Regions from separate parts of the Homo sapiens genome. Here region 1 is linked to region 2. The links are contacts of gene promoters, found by promoter capture Hi-C in blood cells and fetal thymus (Javierre and others, 2016). All regions are on one chromosome and are shown on one strand. Each heading gives the region's core, a stretch centred on a gene start or on the middle of the fragment in contact. The rest is flanking DNA. Distances are from core to core; before and after follow the strand shown. Region 1 overlaps ZNF350-AS1 (ZNF350 antisense RNA 1). Region 2 holds the start of ZNF471 (zinc finger protein 471).

What was found. The method cuts DNA at HindIII sites, captures the fragments that hold promoters and counts their contacts. A CHiCAGO score of 5 or more calls a contact.
Region 1: a fragment that was not itself captured here is called in contact with the fragment with the promoter of ZNF471 in region 2 in 1 of 17 cell types (total B cells); the score reaches 5.1 in total B cells.

The regions. Positions count from the first base shown.
Region 1 is chr19:51,952,550-51,956,948 of GRCh38, reverse strand. The region is part of intron 1 of ZNF350-AS1 (ZNF350 antisense RNA 1); the gene reads right to left. Among named protein-coding and RNA genes, the nearest start is that of ZNF350-AS1, 5.6 kb to the right of the region's middle. The HindIII fragment of the contact is 5,571 bases long and covers 1-4,399 here.
Region 2 is chr19:56,506,083-56,510,509 of GRCh38, reverse strand. ZNF471 (zinc finger protein 471) reads right to left here and starts at 2,655. Exons shown (of 5, transcript NM_020813.4): 1 at 2,590-2,655. The HindIII fragment of the contact is 1,838 bases long and covers 1,245-3,082 here.

The sequences.
Region 1 (4,399 bases), core at 1,150-3,649, 4.6 Mb after region 2:
TTTTTCTGGAGGCAGGGGTGTCTCCTTATGTTTCCCAGGCTGGTCTCAAATTCCCGAGCTCAAGAGAGCCTCTTGCCTCAGCCTCGCAATGTGCTAGGATTATAGGCATAAGCAACCACACCCAGCCTGGAAGCACTTCTAAATTCACTCCATACTCAGAAATATTTAGTTAGCAGGCTGGTCCCTTTAGAAGTCCTACTTCTTTCTTCACCTCATATGAAACTGCCCCTAAATTTGAATGAAATGCCTCGTGATTGCATAATCTTTTTTTTTTTTTTTTTTTTTTTTGAGACAGGGTCTGGCTCTATTGCCCAGGCTGGACTGCAGTGGTGTGATTTTGGCTCACTGCAACCTCCGCCTCCTGGGCTCAAGCCATCCTCCCACCTCAGCCTCTGAGTAGCAGGGACTATAGGTGCCTGCCACCACCCCTGACTAATTTTTGTATTTTAAGTAGAGATGGGGTTTCACCATGTTGCCCAGGCTGGTCTTGAACTTCTGAGTTCAAGGAATCTACCCACCTTGGCCTCCCAAAGTGCTAGAATTACAGGCATGAGCCAGCATGCCAGCCTGGAAGCACTTCTAAATTCACTTCATGCTCAGAATTACTTAGTTAGCAAGCTAGTCCCTTTAGAAGTCTTACTTCTTTCTGGACCTCATATGACAATGTCTACATGTAATAACCTAAATTCTGCTACTCTTCTCCCCCTAAATTTGGATGAAATGCCTCATGATTGCATAACCTTAACTGGTCAGCTTTTCTCTCCTAGGACAAACCTGCAAGAAACTCATCTTAGTAACACTGGTGTGGTTTGATTTACAGACAGATCTTACTTAAAGATTAATCTCAAATTTACAAGCAGGTTATGTTATAATATCCCAAGGGAAAAAATAGAAAGTGCTTATCTTCTAGAAGCAATCTCTGCTGAACAAGCCAAATTGACAGCACTAATTAGAGCTTGTCAGTTGGCAAAATGAACAACTGCTAATTTATATACAGGCAACAGATATACCTTTGAAGTCATTCGTGACTTTGTAATACTGTGAAAATAAATAAAGAGGGTCTTGAACCTCTTCCGGCCAGTCCATAAAAAATGGATACCTTATCTCTTTATTATTAAAAAAACATTATTATAAAACTCACTACCTATTATTAAAATCCAAATCAGATACTCCAAAAAATTCCAAATCAGATACTCCAGAAAGTGAAGGAAGTCAGCTAGCTCATAAGGTTACAATGAGGACTGCCTAAATACATCTAGGCAATAAAAACAATTCATATTAACTTTGAAAGAAGCCCCCAAATTTGACATAAATTAACCCAATCCAGAGCTCTAAAAACAGAATTAGAAAATATAAAACAAAAAGGTGAAATATGGTGTGGACTAAACAACTTGCCTATACTTCCTACTGAATTACAATCATCATTTTCAACCCTACGGACTGATTTAATTCACCGGAGCCCTGATAAAGTGGTTATTGAGAAAAATAGTATTTTGAAAAGTTTCTTCAACTATAGCTCATAAAGCATTTAGTTGCTGCCATATTTGCCCAAAATATAATCCAGGGAAACCTTTACATAGTTCCTAAGAACATTTTTCTTTACCTGAGGCCCCCTTTGAGGTGTGGCAGATTTTATTCGACTACCCCATCACAAGGATACAAGTATGTTCTAGTAATGAAAGTCTGTATAGTTTCATTGGGTAGAAGCATTTCCATGCAGAAGAGCAACAGCCCTAACATTAAGTAAAATTCTCCTTGAAAAATTATTTAGACTTGAGGAGTCTCTCTAGAACTTCATAGGGGCAGAGGTACTCATTTCACTGCCCATGTAATTCAGTCACTACGTAAAATATGGCCAATTCTTTAACACTTCCATTCTGCATATCCCCCTCAGTCATCTGCATTAGTAGAATGCATAAACAAAATAATTAAAATTCAATTGGCAAAATTAACCCAGGCTTTTCACATGTCTTGGCCAAGGGCCCTTCCACTGGTTTTCCTTAACCTAAAATCCACCCCTTTTGGTAGACATCAGTTTTCCCTAATTGAGATAATAACAGGTAGATGCATGAAACTATCCCCAGGAAAGTATAAATCCATAATGCTAAAAGAAGACATATTAAATTTTTCTGACATCTTTATAAAACAACTACCTAAAAATCATAATTTGAAAAAAGACTCTTTTTATAGTGAACTCCCAGGAAACAAAGAACTTAAAACCCATGAACTTCAGCCAGGAGATTTTTTTCTACTGGAAATGATATCTAAAATGATATTTGGTTAAAGGACTCCCTTTAACCAAACTGGAAAGCGCTCTATTAGTTACTTTTTACTAATCCTTGCACTAAAATGTAGAAGGCATAGACGTGTGGATTCACATGTCTTATGTAAAGAAAGTTGAGCCTAAAAGAAAATAGTCTGTATATTGGGGGCGTCTAAAAGTTATTAGGACTTGAGGAAAGTTGACTTTGGAGACTGAGTCATAGAGCTTGACCTCTTAATTACTAACACTTTATTACAGATTAATTTCCTTCCATGTTTCCTAGATCCCAGGCCAGATGTCCCCGATATATAAGACCCTTTCACTGAAATAAAATATTCATTGACTGAGATAAAAGACTTTTTGACTATTATATACATAATGTAAAATGTTAAATATATCTTTCAAAAAAAAAGTCTCTTGACTCAAGCAAAATACTTAGGAGCAAACCTTAATTCCTCACTTTCTTCGTCCCCTTGTTTTGAACTCATCGGTGAGCCTTGTCTTCCTCCATTATATATCCTCCTTTCTAAGAAATATGTAAAGGTGGCATGAGTCTTGGTTTAAAAGGAATAAGGTGGTCCCTTAGGCCCCTTTTGTGATGCCAACCAAGACATAATTGTAGAATTATAGAAGATGCTATTAGTTACATGACAAGGGATCAGTGTATTAGGGACAATGAAATGGGAAAAATTCAGATCTGACATCTGTGTAGGTACTACATGCCAAATGTGACTGAAGGTGACAGACAACACATGTGGGCACCAGCAGTAGCACCCATTCAGTAACACATCTTATCCTATTCAGAAGCACATCTGCTTCTGGAGAGGTCTACATGGTTCATTGGCCTGTTGCAAACTTTCCAAATGATCATTGTTTCTCATCTTTCCCTCTTTCTTTAGAAGCACAGGAGAATGTGCCCACAGTGAGGCTAAAGGTTGGACACTGAGAATAAGTTTCTCTCTAAATGTGAGATTGGTGCTTTGGGAAAATTAGTTTGATGATACAGAATGAAGAAAAGGGATGCATTTTATTTTTATTTTTATTTTTTTTTATTGTTCATTCTTGGGTGTTTCTCGCAGAGGGGGATTTGGCAGGGTCATAGGACAATAGTGGAGGGAAGGTCAGCAGATAAACAAGTGAACAAAGGTCTCTGGTTTTCCTAGGCAGAGGACCCTGCGGCCTTCTGCAGTGTTTGTGTCCCTGGGTACTTGAGATTAGGGAGTGGTGATGACTCTTAACGAGCATGCTGCCTTCAAGCATCTGTTCAACAAAGCACATCTTGCACCGCCCTTAATCCATTTAACCCTGAGTGGACACAGCACATGTTTCAGAGAGCACAGGGTTGGGGGTAAGGTCACAGATCAACAGGATAAGAATTTTTCTTAGTACAGAGCAAAATGAAAAGTCTCCCATGTCTACCTCTTTCTACACAGACACCGCAACCATCCGATTTCTCAATCTTTTCCCCACCTTTCCCCCCTTTCTATTCCACAAAACCGCCATTGTCATCATGGCCCGTTCTCAATGAGCTGTTAGGTACACCTCCCAGACGGGGTGGTGGCCGGGCAGAGGGGCTCCTCACTTCCCAGTAGGGGCGGCCAGGCAGAGGCGCCCCTCACCTCCCGGACGGGGCGGCTGGCCGGGCGGGGGGCTGACCCCCCCACCTCCCTCCCGGACGGGGCGGCTGGCCGGGCGGGGGGCTGACCCCCCCACCTCCCTCCCGGATGGGGCGGCTGGCCGGGCAGAGGGGCTCCTCACTTCCCAGTAGGGGCGGCTGGGCAGAGGCGCCCCTCATCTCCCGGACGGGGCGGCTGGCCGGGCGGGGGGCTGACCCCCCCACCTCCCTAAGGGATGCATTTTAAAAACAGGATGACCATCTAAGAGTGTCACAGATACGTTGAAGTCGAAATCTGACATTCTGACTTGCCTCTCCCAAGATATTTGTTTAAAACAAGTGTGTCTGCTTATTTCCCTGATTGGATATAGGCAGTGTGTGTTTTCTCTCATAATTTGCAGCTACCTCATTTTTTAGTTTCCTTGTGTTTTTATTTTGTTTTCCCCAGCCAGAATGTAAGGTGGTGGTTCACGCCTGTAATCCCAGCACTTTAGGAGGCTGAGGCGGGTGGATCACCTGAG
Region 2 (4,427 bases), core at 1,406-3,905:
CAATCTTACTTCTCTCACACACACAGCTCACTGTCCCTTATCTCTGTCTCACTCACACATGCATGCTTCACAACCTCACAGAGGTTATATTTGTAAAGCCTTTTGGATAACACACCATGGTTCACATAGTTTCTTTCTCACCCATTTTGGTCTCTCACACAACCACATCACTAGTCTTTCTCTCCCTCTTTCACACATATAAACATGATGGTCTCTCATACATACACATTCAATGGTATCTTTCAAAGAGGCCTCAGTTACTCAAATGCTCCAGTGTCTCACACAGATACACAAACACACTCTGATCTCTCATATTCCAACTGCTTTATCTCATGCACACAAAATACATACTGGTCACTCTCACTCCAATCTTTTTCATACTGTGATACACCCTCTCACAACCTACCAGTCCAGACAGAGACATACTCTAGTCTCTCACATACCCATTGGTCTCTCACACACTCACACCAACATACCCCAGTCTCTCCCAATCACTGAACTCTCAGTCTAGTCTCTTGCTTTTACTCAGACACACACATGATCTTTCTCAGACTCCAGGGAGCCTCATACTTGTTCATCTTTCACACAGGCACATCTATTTCTCTCACACATTGATATACCCTGGTCTCACACTCTGGATTCTCACAATCCAGTCCCTGATAACACACTCAGGTGACAAAGAGGAAAAACAAACTGTTTCTCCTACTCCACTCACACAACACAAAACAGTTCTAAGACCAGATGTGTGGGGATCTACACACACACACACACACACACACACACACACACACACACCAGGCAAGCAATAAGTTCTTCAGTGAATACCAGGTGGGTGACCTCTAGGGCAACCCAGTGAATACCAGGTGGGTGACCTCTAGGGCAACCCAATTCTGACACTATCTACCTGGAGACAGCATAAGATCCCACAGGTTGAGGGCTCAGCCCTACAAAATTGCTCCCCACTTCCAATGCCAGTTGCAAACCCCAGGTTGTTTTACTTGTGCTTCTGACTAGCTATAAATCGGGGTTCCTATGACCCCCTCCTTGCGTTCAATTAATTTGCTAGGGCAGCTCACAGAACTTAGGGAAACACGTTTGTAGTAATAAAGGATATTACAAAGGATGCAGGTGAAGAAATGCATAGGACAAGGTTATATAGGAAGGGGCTCATCCTACAGGAACCTCCAGTGTTCAGCTATCTGGAAGTTTGATGAACCCAGTCCTTTTGGGTTTTTATGGAAGCTTCATAATGTAGGCATGACTGGTTAAATCACTGACCACTGATGATCAGTTTAACCTGTGGCTCCCTTTCCTTTCCCTGGAGATTGAGGGATGGGGCAGGTAATCCCAACCCTCTAATCCTGCCTAGATTGTTCTTGTGACCATCCCTTACCGTGATCAACCTACAGGCTGCCAGCCCACCAATCATTAGCATGCAAAAAGACACTTAATACTTTGGAGATTCCAAGGATCTTAGAAGTCGTAAGCCAGGAAACATAACTTTGTCCTATACTTTGATCGCCTCCCTCTCTCTCACAAACTCATAACAACATAACCTAGTCTCACTCTTTGGACTCTCACAGTTTAGTCTCTTTCTCTCTCTCATACACACACACCAGCCTCTCAAGGAGCCTCACATAATGACTGGTCTTTCACACACAGCCACGTGCTCATCTCTCTCACACTCACTGGTCTCACGCTATGTTGTCTCTCACACACGAACACACCCTGGTCTCACACTCTGGTCTCTCTCAGTCTGTCAGACACACATAACACGGCCTCACACACTGACGGGTCTTTCACCCAAAACACCCATTTCTCACACTCACTGGTCTCCCTTTCACACATTAACATACCACAGTCTCACACTCTGTTCTTGCACAGTCTAGTCTCGCATACATGGTGATTCTTCTCTCTCTCGAACACACACCGGCCTCTCATTGAGCCTCACCCACCGACCGACCGGCCTTTCACACACAGGCACACGCCCATCTCTCACACTCACTGGTCTCTCACACTCCATCCAGCCCGTCTCACTCTCTCACACGAATACATCCTGGTCTCACGCTCTGGACACCTGGTCTGTTACACACTTACACACCCACACACCTCGCAACCTCTCACTGAGCTTCACACGCTCTCTTTCAAATGCAGGCACATCCCTATCTCTCTCACACTCACTGGTCTCTCACACTGGCCCGTCTCGCTCTGTCACACACGAACATACCCTGGTCTCACACTGGACTCTCGGTCTGTCACACACACACACACACACACACAGAAACCACACCCTCTCACGGAGCCTCACACTCTGACAGATCTTTTACACACAGGCACACCCCCATCTCTCCCACAGCTCACTCCAGTGGTCCCGCCGCCCCAAGCCGCCCCGAACGCCCAGCAGCCCCGAGCCGCGGCCTCCGCCCCGCAGACTCGAGTACGCGCGCCCCGCTGGCCTCTGGGAAATGTAGTCGTCCTGGGGACAGAGGACGCGGCTGGGCCTTCGCGACCCGCGTCGGAGCCGCCCGCCTCGCCTGCCCTTCCTGGCCCAGCCCTCGAGCTCGGACTCCCAAACCACCCAAAACAAACCCCCGGCCTCGTCTGGCACCCAGACGCTCTCATCCGAAGGACTCCGTGAGTCGACGCTGGAACCCCCCATCGCGCAGGCGCCAGCCTCTCTCCAGGGGTCGGACGAGAGGGGCGGAGACAAGGCGTGGCCTAGTGTTGAGGGGATTGTCCTCGGGCTGCTGAAGGAGTGAGAGGGACCTTAGAGCAGAGCGGGCGGTGCCTGCGCAGTGCGTGATTACGCGAGCCGGGCGTGGCCCAGGGTTCCGGCGGGTAAGAGCAGGAGTGTGCGCAGGCGCAAAGATTGCGCTCTCCCCCTCTCCTCGCCTAGAGACCAGAAGCGTCCCTAGTTACTAGTTCCTGGGGCCTGGGAGGGAAACGCGCGACGGCTGAGCCTTCGGTGTGAGTACGCGTGGGGCTTTGTGACGCTGTCTGTGCCTCTGTGATCGCGATGTCATTCGGAGCGCGGCCTTCTGTGCCAGTCCGTGGGAGTGTCATTATCTTTCTGTGTTAAGCTTATTTTGGAATAAGACAGCGACGAGGAACCCCGACCGTGTTGTGACTCTGGCGAATTAATACCTCTTTCAGCTGCAAATGGGAATGTCACTGATCAGAGGCAGTGAATAACACGACGTTTTTGGAACCAATCTGCTAGGCTTGAACCGCGTTCAGCCCCTTAACAAAATGGAAATGGTCCCCGTTTTAGGGGACTAGCCCTGACTAGGAGAACTGTAGAATTAGTATTGGAAGGTGAGACAAATAAGGAAAAGCAATTCAGGGGGATACAGCAGAGAAAAAAAAATCCCTGTCCTCTTATTATGTAATTTACTTTGAAGCGGAGAGAGACAAGCCACAAATTCATGAGTTAGATAAACAGTCTGATGAACAGTAAAAAGGGCTATGGAGAAATATAACTCAGAGAAGGTTGTATCGTATACATTTTTTCTATTGTCTCTTATAATGTCTTAACATGTCAAAAAAACCTGTCTGCAGCAGACACCAGCCAGGTGACCGCTACTCCAATTCAATTCTGACGCTACCTGGAAAACATCAGATCCTACAGGTTAGACAGCTCAGTCCCAAAAGACTGTCCCCCACTTCCCATGCCAATTCCAAACTCCAGATTGTTGTACCTGTGTTTCAGAGAGATGTGCTATAAATTGGGGCTCCCACAGCCGGCTCCTTGGGTTCCATTAGTTTGCTAGAGCAGCTCACAGAACTCAAGGAAACACTTATGTTTACTGGTTTATTATAAAAGATATTTTAAAGGATACAAATAGCCAGATGAAGAGACATGTAGGGCAAGGTCCGAGAGAATCCCTAGTGCAGGAACTTCTGTGCCCGTGGAGTTGGGGTGCACCACCCTCCCAGCACGAGGATGTGTTTTTGTCTACCTTCTTGGAAGCCGCTTGAACTCAGGCCTTTTCGGTTTTCAAGGTTTCATTATGTAGATGTGATTGATTAAATCATTGGCCACTGGCGATCAACTTAATTTTCAGGCTCTCTCTTTTCCCAGAAGTAGAGGGTGGAGCTGTGAGTTCCAGTCCTCTGAGCACATGGCTGGTTCCTCTGGCAACTAGCCACCACTCCCCCCAAATATTGGGATTATCTTGAGAGTTTCCAAAAATCACCTCATTAACATAAACTCATGTGTGGTTGAAATACTGTCTTTCACCTTTATGGCTCTGGAGCTGTTCTGGAGCTTTTTCAGGAACCAGGAACAAAAGGCCAGATATTTTAACAAAAGATACTTTATTGCTGCAGTCATTTAGGAAATTAAAAGAGCTGTAGGAACTGAGAGCCATGAACTGTACCTTTCTTTCTAACTCCACATTCAGTGATGTCATATTGGTAGATTGAAA